Regions from separate parts of the Homo sapiens genome. Here region 2 is linked to region 1. Evidence: promoter capture Hi-C in human tissues and cell types (Jung and others, 2019). All regions are on one chromosome and are shown on one strand. The core of a region is centred on a gene start or on the middle of the fragment in contact, and the rest is flanking DNA. Distances in the headings are between cores, read along the strand shown. Region 1 holds the start of IRF5 (interferon regulatory factor 5). Region 2 has its middle 12 kb from the start of SMO.

Region 1 (6,856 bases), core at 2,839-5,338:
AGTGTAGAGGTGTCCATGTAACAGTGCTGGCTGAATGGGGGACTTCCAGGTCACACCCCAAAAAGCTCTGAGCCGGTGTTAGTAAGAAATGGGGAGGAAGGCCCAGCTGTGGCGCCCTGGGCATTAATCCTAAAAAAAAAGATACTACTTCTATGTGCCAGAAACTTCAAAGCAAGTGAACACTTCAAGTACGAGAACCAGAGGTGTTTTTTTGTTTTTTCTTTTTTCTTTTGAGACGGAGTATCGCTCTGTCACCCAGGCTGGAGTGCAATGGTGCAATCTCGGCTCACTACAACCTCCGCCTTCTGGGTTCAAGCAATTTTCCTGCCTCAGCTTCCCGAGTAGCTGGGATTACAAGTATGAACCACCACGCCTGGCTAACTTTTGTATTTTTTTTTTTTTAGTAGAGACGGGGTTTCCCCATGTTGGCCAGGCTGGTCTCGATCTCCTGACCTCAGGTCATCCACCTGCCTCAGCCTCCCAAAGTGCTGGGATTACAGGCGTGAGCCACCCCACCCGGCCAAGAGGTGTTAAAATCTAAATCAGACTATGTCATGCCTCAGATCTGAACCTTTCAGTGACTGTCCCTAGCAAAGCCATAGCCTGTGAGGTGCCCCTCAAGGCCTCACCCGATTTCATTACTTGAGGATTTATCGTCTATCTTACTCTGCAGAATGGAAGCTCCAGGAGGGCAGGGGTTTTTAGACAAAGTAGAAATTGTCCACCACTTTATCCTGGCAGGTACAACATGCCCGATAAGCATTGTTGAATGTAGACTCACAGCCAATTCGTGACACTGGTGTCACCATTCTCCTTTACAGATGGGAAATGGGGCTTCTGGGGGAGTGAATGGCTTGCTTAGGTCACGCAATTCTAGATTGCAGAGTGAGGATTTGACTCAGACCTGTTGACCTCAGAGCCTGATGTCCAGCCAACAAGTTCTCAGAAACTCGGGGTTTCTGAGAAATAGGACAGTCAGCCTGGGGACCCCTGAGAGCCCAGGCCGAGGGGGTGGGTTTCCTGGGGTAGAGGTTTTGAGAGGCAAAGGCAGTTGTCATCAACCCAGGCTGCACTGAAGGGGGCTGTTCCAGAGCCAGGGTGCATTGTTCAGCTGCCCAGTGGGCCTCTGGGTTTCTTTCAGTTCCCTTTGGTGACACGGCTTCCCTCCTCCCCCCTGCTCCCCACCCCAGCCACCCCACTCTACACTCGCTCACACAGCGTAGCTTCTACTCGAGTCAGGGGAGGGTGCCTCCTACCACACCCTCAGTCTGTGATATTCCAGCCAGGGGAAATGGGGGAAGGGGCCATCTCACTGTGGGGAGTGGGGGGCCCGGACAGACCTCCCTGTCCCCACCGCCTCCTGGCCCATCAAGGGGAAATGGGAGTGCTCACACAAGGGCCGGGTGTGGCTTCACTTCCCCTCTACTTGCCCTTCCACCCCCAGGATGGCACTGGGAGGCCAAGGGATCCCAGATCCTGGAAACACTGGAGTGCTGCTCTCTGTCCTTCCTTTCTCCTGGGCCATGTCTCTGGCCCCAGATGATTCTTGGCTCAGGTTCTTTCAGTTGAGGGAAGTCAGGATCTGAGCCAAGCTGAGCCCCTGCATAGCCTCTATCCCGGGAGCCCCATATCAATGCTGCCGGCTTGGTAACATCATCCCCCTTTTAGAGACGAGGAAATGAGATTTGAGGTCCTACTTAAGGCCACTTGGCTGGAATACAGCAAAGCCAGGTGCAAGCCCCTTCTCTGCACGCAGCCCGTGCTGCTTCTTGAGGTTCAGAGGCTCTAAGGAAGGGGCCTCACCTGAGCAAGATGGACAGTGGGAAGGGGGCAGAGGGCAGAATTCTAGGGTCTCACGGTCCCTCAGAATGGGTGAGGAGTATTTGATAACAAAAGAAGGCTCTTCTTAGCTATTGCTCCAGATACGACCAGCATAGAATATTTTTCTATTAAGCATAACTGACCTCCAGTGAAAAAGGTTCCCATTTTGTGGGGAGCCACTTTTGAAATAGCAATTTCATTTTATTATTATTATTTTGAGATAAGATCTCACTTCTACGCCCAGGCTGGAGTGCGGTGGTGTGCCTCCTGGGTTCAAGCAATTCTCCCACCTCAGCCTCCCAAGTAGGTGGAACTATAGGTGTGTGTCACCACGCCAGGCTAATTTTTGTATTTTTTGTAGAGACAAGGTTTTGCCATATTGCCCAGGCTGGTCTCGAACTCTTGGACTCAAGTGATCTGCCTGCCTTAGCCTCTCAAAGTGTTGGGATTACAAATGTGAGCCACCGTGCCTGGCCTAGCAATTTCATTTTTAAAGAAAGAAATATAAAACGATCTACCCATTCACATTTTCCCCATCCATACTTTAAATTTTAAAAATATGAAATAATGAAATACTCAGCAGATACAAATAATAAAATACTTATATATAATGATATTTCGACTTCATATTAGGGCTTCAAAGGTCAGGAAAGAGGGAGAGATACAGAAGAGAAAAAAAAAAAACGTTAACACATGAGTGTCTTTTTTTAACTTGTTAAAGGTAAAGTTCAACCCAGGAGAAGGGAGGGGAGGGAAGGTCAAAGTTCTGATTCATCAACAAATACTACTTTATTTGTTAAAAATACAAGGCTCTGCTTGGCGCAGTGGCTCCCGCCTGTAATCCCAGCACTTTGGGAGGCCAAGGCGGGTGGATCGCCTGAGGTCAGGAGCTCGAGACCAGCCTGGCCAACATGGTGAAACCCCGTCTCTACTTGGGAGGCTGAGGCAGGAGAATCGCTTGAACTGGGGAGGCAGAGGTTGCAGTGAGCTGAGATCGCACTGCTGCACTCCAGCCCGGGTGACAGAGCAAGACTCCATATCAAAAAATAAAATAAAATAAAATGAACAATGAAAAGACAGGAGGGAGGTTCCTGAGTAAGCTGATTCGAGTGGAAATCAGACATCAAAATTGAAACCCGCTGAATTTTCCAAAAAGCCAGATGCTCATAGAACTGAAGCTTGAGACACTTACATCAGTACACCTGCTGCCTGTTGACCAATTCCTCTTCCTTGTCCCTCCTGTTTTCCTTCCCTGCTATATAAGCCCCTAACTTTAGTCAAGGGGAGGGATGGATTGGAGGTTTGTCTCCCCTCTCAACAGCTCACTGGCTGATGTCACCGGAATAAAGTCTTCCCTGGCAATACTCGCTGTCTCAGTGATAGGCTTTCTGTGCGGTGAGCAGCCAGACCTGGACCAAACCCCTGGCAATCCATAACAAAATCATAAGCAAAATCAACCAGGAAGCTATTTGCACCCTGGAACCCCACCTGGGAGGGGAAGTCAAGGCAGACTTTCCAGAGAAGGCGATGCTGAAAATTTCAGAAACAGAAATTTTGAAGAGCAAGAGTTACCAAGCGAAGAACATTCCATGAGAAGGAACAGGAGGTGTGTGAAGGTGGAGGTTCTGGGGTGAGGTTCTTTATGGAATCGAAAACGGTTCAGAACCACAGGTCGACGGTCAAGGTAGTAGTGAGAGGAGGTGGGACAGGCGACCACGCCGCTGCCCCTGGGATGACTGGAAGGCGACTTAGGGGAGCTGGGGCGAGACAGGTGCAGGGTTTGAGGATGAGAAAGGCACAGAGTGACTAGAGGATTCCCGCCTGCAAGCACATCTGGAAGGGGTGTCTGGATCCTGGGGGCAGCGACTGTGTTCTAGGGCGAGAGCCACCCTCGCCAGGGGTGTAGGCAGGCGAGAGGAGGGCCTGGAGCTGTGGGTCGGCCACACTGCGCCCTCATTTGTGTGCAGCCCCGGAGGACCAGAGTGGGGAAGCACCCCACCCTCTCCCAGGGCCCAACTGAGCACTGCAGCGGGAGGTACGGGGTTGTCAAATGACAGTTTTGCCATTCCAGATTGCCAAAAGAGCCAGTGGCCAGTCTAGGGCACCGCGCCGTCTGGCATCTCCCTGGAGGCCCTGGGCCTGGCCCGAGGCTCAGCCCGGATCTGCAGTTGCCAGGTCAGTGCGGGGCCCGGAGTGGATTCGCGGGGCGGGGCGGGGCACTGCCCGCGCCCGGAGCTCAGCAGCAGCTGCCCAGGGGCGGGGGCGGCAAGACGCGGAAGTGCCCGGCAGGTTGGCGGACCGGCGGGAGGCGCAGCCTGGGCAGAGCTCAGCTTGGTCCCGCCGCCCGGCCGGTGCTCCCTGGCGCAGCCACGCAGGCGCACCGCAGACAGGTGGGTCCCGGCCGCCGCGCTCTCCTCTCTGCGTCCGCGCCCGGCGCGCCCCGAGGGTGGCGGGAGCGGTGCCGGCTACTGCCCCCAAGTCTAGGCCTAGACTGGGCCCCGCGCCCCCCAGGCACCTGCGGGCGGCGGGATGAAGACTGGAGTAGGGCGGGGTCCGCGTCCAGCTGCGCCTGGAAAGCGAGCTCGGGTGGGTGCCTACAGCAGGGTGCGCCCGGCCGGCCTGGGACTTCCAAAGCGCCTCCCACGCCCCGATCGGTTTGGGGTGCTGGCGCCCGGGGAGCCCAGTGACCCAGGCGGCGGAGTGGGCAGCGCTGCGGGGGGCGCCGGCTCTGCTGCTCTCCCTCCCCCTCGCCATCGCCCAGAATGGGGGTTCCCGGGAGCCCCGCTGGAGGCTGGCTTGGACCACAGAGGAGCGAGGCCCGATCCTTACTTTCGATGCACTCGCCCTTGCTCTTACCGGGCCACCCTCACCCTTTCGGAAAAGAGGTTGAGGTTAAAGCGTTCATCCCCCGGGATCTTCAGGCCAATGGCAGGAACTGTGCAAGAGTTTGGGGGAAGATGGTGTCAGGTAGAGGCTGCGTCCCTGGGCTCGCGGCCGGGAATGGCAGACTCTCGTCCCCCGAGCAGCGGAAAAGGATGGGGCGCAATAGTTCCTGGGCTGGTTTCCTCAGGTCCTGTCCCAGAACTTAAGAAGGCAACAATGAAGAGGCTAAACGTGGAGGAAAAGTGAGGCTAGCATGGCCGGGATGCGTGGGGAGATGGTTGTCTCCGGACCCCGGGAGGGGCGGGAGCGGGTACCTGGGAGCAGAGGCTGGAGTGGGGGACTTTCCCAGCCTCGCGGCCACGCTGAACACAGCAGGGCGAGGACCGGGGTGCTGCTCCTCCAGCAGCAGGAGGAGAGGTCCAGAGGCCGACTCTGGAGGTGGGGGTGGCTCCGCGGGCTGGCCCAGGGGGTGTGCCCCAGCGGAGCACGCGGGAGGGGTGGGGGCGGAGGGGAGGGGGGAGCAGGGGCGGAGGACTGGGCTGGGCCTGGGCTCCTCGAGGGCCCAGAATGGGGATAAGTGACCAGAACCAGAGAGGGCTCGGCTGTATCGATGTAGGAAACTGTAGCCCCTCAGGAGGCCCTCTGGCAAGACCTCCCCTTCCTGCCCCCACCCCCAGTAGTTATGGGGCCTGGGGTGCTGGGGCTGAGGGGTTCCAAGAGTCAAGGGAAGCACTGGGAAATCACCCCTTTTTATCTAAAGGCCCTACTTTGGGGTTTTTCCCCTGTACCCTGGTCTTCCCCTACCCTGACCCTGGGAGGAAGCTGAAAGAAGCTTCTTTCTGGGCACCTTTTGCCCCAGAGCCTCAGCCTGTCTGGACCAGGTGGGCAGCAGGGCCCAGGGTGTGGGCAGCTGACCCGGAGGGGTGGGATTTGGGGGTCAGGGCCTGTACAGGGAACCCCTTGTCCTCTCCCTGAGCTGGGTGTGGGTTTGCAAGGAGACATGTGACCCAGACCAACCCTGGGAGCAGCAGGGCGCCTGCTGTCTGGCCACTCTTACTAGGACTGCTGTGGCACTTCCTCCCCTAGTGGGTCCCTGGTGCCCATGAATTGCAGCTCCTGGGTGGTGGTGGGGGCACTGTCTCCTGGGACTCCAGCATGGCCCTGGGGTGAGCTGTGGGCTTACCCCACCTCAGCAGGTCCTCTAGGGCTGCCCACTGGATGCTTCGCTGCCTCACACAATTGTAGGGACTTCCTCAGGCTGTTGGATTTCCCCACCTTCCGGGGCTCAGGTCCATTGACTTAGGTCTAGGGCTCCATACATTTCACCCAGAGACTCCGGAGCCTGGCAGGCAGACCTGTTCTGACACCGAACTTCCAAAGTCATGGGCCTTGATTGGGGTGGTCTGAATTAGACCTAGCCCTTTTCTGGGCAGAAGGGAGCTTCTAGGAGGATGGATGCTGTTCGGGTTAGAGCTCGTGTGGACCTAGCTGCAGGCAAAAGCCTTGAGGCTGAGTCCCTTCTGTGGCATGGTGGACAGACTCTCGCTCATCACAGCCGGGCTTGTCACGGGAGCTCCTCCTCCACACCCCTCCCTAAGCTGCCTGTATGGACGCGGCCCTCTGACACTGAGGTCGGAGTTATCATTTCAAAACCTTGCTCTGTATTAAACAGCCGTGTTGGGCAGGGCCAGACTGCTGGACTGACAGTAGGGGGCAGGCAGCCGGACCCTCTGAGCTCCCCAACGGCACCAGCGCCTGCACGGCCTCAGCCCAGGGGGTCATTAGGGAAGCTCTCCCCGATTCTGTGCAGACAGAGCTTCCTCTGTCCACCCTTGCTCGGCCAGAATTGTGTGCCGCTGGTGACTGGCACCCCTCTATTCTAGGGCCAAGGCCTCTCAGGGGTCTACAGATACAACTATGGGTGGGTGCACACCCATGTTATAAACCACACTAAATGCACAAAAACTGTCTGCAAGTTTGGGGTGCGGGGAACAGCTCTGGGTGGGAGGTTGGAAATTTGGTCTGGGGGACCCACTCGGCTCCCTCCCTCAGCCCACAGTGAGTCTGGTTTCTGAGTTGTCCCGGTCTAGCCACTTTCGTTTCCCCTGGGGCCGGGTGGAGGCTGGGGCAGAAAGCGGAACTGAGCCCGCGT
Region 2 (6,960 bases), core at 2,368-4,867, 240 kb after region 1:
ACAGTAGACAGCTTTTCAGTGTATCTTCCCAACTTGCAATGATTCCTTCTTCTTTGGAAACTGGCATCCACCCCTCAAGCCATAGGGGTGAGTCTTGAGGAGCCATATTTATCCTCTAAGGCCTGGTCCCCTAGGCATAGCTGATTGGATCCAGCTCAGGCACTCTATTCGTTTCCTAGGGCTCCCATCACAAAGTACCACAAAAATAGATCGCTTAAAACAACAGATAATTATTGTTTCACAGTTTTGGAGGCCGGAAGTCTGAAATCAAGGTGTTGACCAGGCCATGCTCCCCGGAAGCCTCCAGGGGAGGATCCTTCCTTGTCCTTTCCAGCTTCTGGTAGCTGGGTATTCCTTGGCTTGCGGCAGTATAAATGCAGACTCTGCCTCCCTCTTCATCTTCCCTCTGTGTCTGTGTCCCAATTTTCCTCTTCTCATAAGGATGCCAGTCACATTGGATCAAGGCCCACTGTACTCCAGTATCCTCATCTTTTTTTTTTTTTTTTTTTTTTGAGACAAAGTCTTGCTCTGTCACCCAGGCTGGAGTGTAGTGTCACGATCTTGGCTCACTGCAACCTCCACCTCCTGGGTTCAAGTGATTCTCCTGCCTCAGTCTCCCTAGTAGCTGGGATTACAGGCACGCACTTCCACGCCCTGCTAATTTTTGTATTTTTAGTAGAGTCAGGGTTTCACCATGTTGGTCAGGATGGTCTTGAACTTCTGACCTCAGGTGATCTGACCATCTCAGCCTCCCAAAATGCTGGGATTACAAGCGTGAGCCACCACGCGCCTGGCCTCCAGTATCATCATCTTAATTAATTACTTCTGCAATGACCCTATCTCCAAATAAGGTCCCAATCTGAGGTGCAGGGGTCTAGGGCTTCAACATATCTTTTTTAAGAAGTCAAAATTCAACCCACAACAGGCACCTAACCCAAACAGTAACAAACAGAGTTATTTCCCTGGGACTTGGGAATTGAGAATGAGGTTCTAGTCACAGCCTGGGCTGGTCTCATGAAGAAAGAGAAGGCAAAGGGAGGCTGAGGTACCAGCCCTCTTATGCTCCAGGGACTGATTATGGAGAAAGTCTATTCCCAGAAACAAGAGAAGGAAGGAGTGGAGTGCGGTGAGGAGGAAGAAGAGGAGTCCTCCTAGAAGCGCCTTTCCTCTATAATCCCAGAACCTTTCTGCAGCGGCACTGCTTTCCAGCCGTGGCTTCCCTATCTGCTTACAGTAAAGCCTGTTTTGTTTGCTTAGGGAAGCTCAACTAGTTTCTCTTGCTCGCAAGCAGAGTTAATAGAAAAACTAGAATCAGAGTAAGATGCTGTATTAGTACTCTTTTGCTGCTGTAACAACTTTCCACAAACTCAGCGCTCAAAACAACACAAATTTGGCCGGGTGCGGTGGCTCATGCCTGTAATCCTAGCACTTTGGGAGGCCAAGGTGGGTGGATCACCTAAGGTCAGGAGTTTGAGACCAGCCTGGCCAACATGGCGAAACCCTGTCTCTACTAAAAGTATAAAAGTTAGCTAGGTGTGGTGGCACATGTCTGTAATCCCAGCTACTTGGGAGGCTGAGACAGAATCACTTGAACGCAGGAGGCAGAGGTTGCAGTGAGCCAAGATCATGCCACTACACTCCAGCCTGGCCGACAGAGTGAGACTGCATCTCAAAAAAAAAAAAAAAAAAAAAAAGCAACACAAATTTTTTATCTTACGTTCTGTTGGTCAGAAGTGTGCTATGAGTCTCACTGGGTTAAAACCAAGGCATCAGCAGGGTTGCATTCCTTGCTGGAGATTCCAGGGACAATACATTTCTTTGTCTTTTCCTCCTTCTTGAGGCTACCTGCTTTCCTTGGTTGGCGGCCCCATCCTCCATCTTCCAAGCCTGCAAGGGCAGGGCAGGTACTTCTCACACTACTGTCTCTCTGCGGCCAGGAAAGATTCTTCACTCCTGTGATTAGGTTGGGCCCATCTGCATAATCTAAGATACTTTCCCCATCTCGAGGAATGTAACCTTAATCACACCATTTGCAAAGTCCCTTTTGCCATATGAGGTAATATATTCACAGGTCCTGGGGATTAGGATATGGATATCTTGAGGGCATATTATTTTGCCAACCACAGATGCACAATAGACTATATTATGACCATTTGTAGTAAGATAGATGACCAAGCATTTCTTTGTACTGTTTCTTTTTCTTTTTTTTGAGACGGAGTCTCACTCTGTCACCAGGCTGGAGTGCAGTGGCACAATCTCCACTTACGCAACCTCTGCCTCCTGGGTTCAAGTGATTCTCCTGCCTCAGCCTCCCAAGTAGCTGGGACTACAGGAACATGCCACCACGCCCAACTAATTTTTGTATTTTTAGTAGAGACGGGATTTCACCATGTTGGCCAGGATGGTCTCAATCTCTTGACCTTGTGTTCTGCCTGCCTCGGCCTCCCAAAGTGCTGGGATTACAGGTGTGAGCCACTGGTACTGTTTCTTTTTCTTACAAAATTGCTTAATTTCAACAATTCAGGCTGAAGCTCTTTTTGAGGAACATAGGGTCAATTCAGTGACATTCAAGGACCTTTATTTAGCTGCCTTCTCATAGCAGACGTTTTAACTCTCCCAGAAAGACTTCAAATGAGTACATACTCCCAAAGGCCTCATTGGAGCCAGGGAAGAATAAACAGAATTGGGTGAAATATGTATTTCCCACTAAAGAATTTCATTTACAGCTGGGCATGGTGGGTCATACCTATAATCCCAGCAATTTGGGAGGCTGAAGTTGGAGGGTCACTTGAGCCTGAGAGTTCAAGACTAGCCTGGGCAACACAGGGAGACCCCATCTCTACAAGAAAAAAATAAAAAATTTAGCCAGGCACGATGGTATGTACCTGTGGTCCCAGCTAGATGGGAGGCTGAGGTGGAAGGACCACTTGAGCCCAGGAGGTCAAGGAGGCTGTAGTGAGCCATGTTTGTGTGCTACTGCACTCCAGCCTGGGCGTCAGAGACAGTCTGTCTCCAAAAAAAAGAAAAAAAAAATGCCTTTATGAAAATGTAATTACCAGAAAAAGGCTATTTGAAAAAATGTGGTGGCCAGACACAGTGGCTCACACCTATAATCCCAGCACTTTAGGGAGCAAAGACGGGAGGATGACTTGAGCCCAGGAGTTTGAGACTAGCCTGGGTAATATAGGAAGACCCCCTTTCTGCAAAAAAGTTTTAAAAATTAGGTGAGCCTAGTGGCAAGCACCTGTAGTCCCAGCTACTGAAGAGGCTGAGGCAAAAGAATTCCTTGAGCCCAGGAGGTTGAGGCTGCAGTGACCCATGGTTGCACCACTGCACTCCAGTCTGGGTGGCAGAGGAAGACCCTATCAAAAAAAAAAAAAAAAAAAAAAAGGAAGGAAAGAGGGAAGGGAAGGTGAGAGGAGAGGAGGGGAGGGAAGGGGAGCGGAGAGGAGGGGAGGGGAGGGGAGGGGAGGGAAAAGGGAAAGAAGGAAGGAAAGAAAGAGAAAGAAAGAAAGAGAAAGAAATGTGAAATCTCCTCTGAACTGAGAGTCTGGGGTGAATACCTTAATAAAAGTAATGTTTCTGGCAGGGGGCTATAAGGTTAATTTTTGTATAGATACAATAAATGAAATAGACACCTGTAGGAAGCCAGGTACACCCACACATTCACTCAACAAATGCAGTGTGCCAGGTGCCATTCTAGCACCAGGGAGAGAACATAACAAATGCTTGCCCCTCCTAAGTTTACATTCTACTGGAGGAGACAGATGTATGCAAATATATGTTATAGCTTATCCATTACATATACTATAAAGTCAGATACAGGCTATGAAGATATAGACAATGAAGAAAAATAAAGCAAGTTGAGAGGATAGAGAGTGATGGAGGGAGTGCAATTTTTTATGAGACATTTTTTGTTTTTTGTTTTTTTTAGAGACATGGTCTTGGTCTTGCTGTGTTTCTTAGGCTGACTTCAAACTCCTGGGCTCAAGCACTCCTCCTGCCTCAGCTTCATGAGGTGCTGGGACTACAAGGCACTTTTTTAAAAAAGTTTAATTTTTTTTTTGTTGTTAAATAATTACAGACTCACAGAAGGTTGCAAAGAAATGCAAGGGAAGTCCCATGCTCTTTTTCCCAACCTCACCCAGTGTTAACATCTTCTACAATTACAGTATGATACATTATCAGAACCAAGGAATTGACACTGCTACAATGTATAGAACTTATTTGGATTTCAGTAATCATACATGCACTTATTTGCATATGTGTGCATGGCTCTATGTAATTTTATCACATGTAGTTTTGTGTAATCACCACTACAATCAAGGTATACTCAACTGGAGTATATGTGAATTACATCTCCATGAAACTGCTACAAAAAAATGCTCAACTGTGCCATCATCACAAGACACATTGGTGTTACCCCTTCATAGCCACACCCATTCCTCCCCACCGTCACTAACCTCCGGCAACCACCAATCTGTTCTCCACCCCTATAATTATGTTATTTCATGAATGTTACAGAAATGGAATCATGCAGTAGTTATCCTTTTGAGACTGGCTTTTTTCACTCAGCATAATTTCTTTGAGCGCCATCCGAGTTGTTGCGTGTATCAATAGTTTGTTCTTTTCTATTTCTGAGTATTATTCCATGGTATGGATAAACTACAGTTTGTTTAACCACTCACCCATTAAAGGACATTTGGTTGGTTTCCAGTTTTGAGCTATTACAAATAAAACTGCCACGACCATTTGTGTACAAGTTCCTGCGTGAAAATAAGCCTTCATTTCTCTTGGAGAGATGCCCAGGAATGTGACTGCTGGGTCGTATGGTATATATGTTTTTTCCAGAAACTGACAAATTGTTTTCCAGAGTGGCTCTATCATTTTATGTTCCCCAGCACTATACGAATGACTCAGTTTCTCCGCAGCATTGCCAGCATTTGGTGTTCATCACTACTTTTTTTTTTTTTTTTTTTTAGACACAGTCTCACTCTGTCGCTTAGGCTGGACTGCAGTGGTGTGATCTCGGCTCATTGCAACCTCCGCCTCCTGGGTTCAAGTGATTCTCCTGCCTCAGCCTCCTGAGTAGCTGGGACTGCAGGCATGTGCCACAATGCCCAGCTAATTTTTTGTATTTTCAGTAGAGACGGGGTTTCACCGTGTTAGCCAGGATGGTCTCGATCGATCTCCTGGCCTTGTGATCTGCCCGCCTTGGCCTCCCAAAGTGCTGGGATTACAGGCATGAGCCACCGCACCTGGCCCACAATTTTTTATTTTAGTCATTTTGATCAGCATGTGGTAATATCTCATTATGGTTTAATTTGCATTTCTCTAATGGCTAATGATACTGAACATCTTTTCATGGGTCTATTTGCCACCTATATATTCTCTTTGGTAAAATGCCTGTGCGTGTCTTTTTCCCGTTTTCTAATTGGATTGTTTGTTTTTTTAAGTACTGTTTTCAAGTTCTTTGCGTGTTCTAGATACAAGGCTTTTTTTGGACATGCAATTTACAAATATCTTCTCCCAGTATTTAATTTGTCTTTTTATTCTTTTAACAGTGTCTTTTGCAGAGCAAAAGTTTCAGATTCTGATGAGATACAATTTGTCAATTTTTCCTCTTCCGGTTTTGCTTTTTATTTTTTATTTTACTTTTATTTAACTTCTTTAGAGATAAGGTCTATGTTGCCCAGGCTGGAGTGCAGTGGCTGTTCACAGCTGCAATAATGGAGCACTGCAGCCTTGAACTCCTGAGCTCAAGTAATCCTCCTGCTTCAGCCTTCTGGTAGCTGGGACTACAGGTGTGCATCACTGTGCCTGGCTCTGGGTTGTGCTTTTGGTATCAAGTCTAAGAACTCTTTGCCTGGTATGAGTCCTGAAGATTTTCTATGTGTTTTTTAGAAGTTTTATATTTACATTTAAGTGCATGATTTGTTTTGAGTTAATTTTTGTTTAAGGTGTGTGAGGTTTACATAGAGTTTTATTTTATTTTTATTTTTTTGCATATGGATATGTAATTGCTCTAGCACCATTTATTGAAAAAGTTCTCCTCCACCATTGAACTGCTTTTGCTGCTTTGTCAAAAACTAATTGGCCATATATGTGGGCATATTTCTGGGTTCTCTATTCTGCTACATTGATCTATGTGTCTATCTTTCTACCAGTACCACATTGTCTTGATTGCTGTAACTATATAGTCAGCCTTAATATCAGCCAGCGATTCCTCCCACTTTAATCTTTGTCAAAAATTGAGCAAGGCCTTTCACTTTCCATATTAGTTTTGGAATAAGCTTGTCTATGTCTACAGAGAAACTTGTTTTCTTTCTTTCTCAAAACTTGAGATTTTGATAGGAATTTTGTTAAACCTAGAGGCTTAGGGAATCAACCTAGGGGAAAGTGACATCTTTGCTATGTTTGATCTTTTGATTCATGAACATAGTATGCCTCTCCAAGGATTTAGGTTGCCTTTGATTTCTTTCATCCCCATTTTATAATTTTCATCATATAGATTCTTTATAAATTTTGTTAGATTTGTACTTAAGTATTTCATTTTTTTTTCTTTCTTTCTTTCTTTCTTTCTTTTTTTTTTTTTTTTGAGACAAGTTTCACTCTTTTGCCCAGGCTGGAGTGCAATGGCATGATCTCGGCTCACTGCAACCTCTGCCTCCTGGGTCCAAGTGATTCTCCTACCTCAGCCTCCCCAGTAGCTGGGATTACAGGCACCTGCTATCATGCCCAGCTAATTTTTGTATTTTTGTAGAGATGGGGTTTTACCATGTTAGCCAGGCTGGTCTTGCACTCCTGACCTCAGGTTATCCACCCACCTCGGCCTCCCAAAGTGCTGAGATTACAGGCATGAGCCATTGTGCCCAGTCAAGTATTTCATTTTCTTTGGAGCAGTTTGTTAGGAATGCCTTCTTGAGAAAGGGTATTTGAATGGACCTAAATGAGAACATA

What was found. The method cuts DNA at HindIII sites, captures the fragments that hold promoters and counts their contacts. A contact is called where the count stands out against the background at its distance.
Region 2: a fragment that was not itself captured here is called in contact with the fragment with the promoter of IRF5 in region 1 in 1 of the 25 tissues and cell types used here (lymphoblastoid cells).

Annotation. Positions count from the first base shown.
Region 1 is chr7:128,933,839-128,940,694 of GRCh38, forward strand. IRF5 (interferon regulatory factor 5) reads left to right here and starts at 4,089. Exons shown (of 9, transcript NM_001098629.3): 1 at 4,089-4,211. RefSeq lists enhancers at 562-611, 882-1,001, 2,417-2,711, 4,379-4,962, 4,996-5,065 and 1 more and silencers at 1,132-1,221, 3,956-4,715. The HindIII fragment of the contact is 4,364 bases long and covers 1-4,267 here.
Region 2 is chr7:129,172,697-129,179,656 of GRCh38, forward strand. No RefSeq gene overlaps it. Among named protein-coding and RNA genes, the nearest start is that of SMO, 12 kb to the right of the region's middle. The HindIII fragment of the contact is 6,954 bases long and covers 141-6,960 here.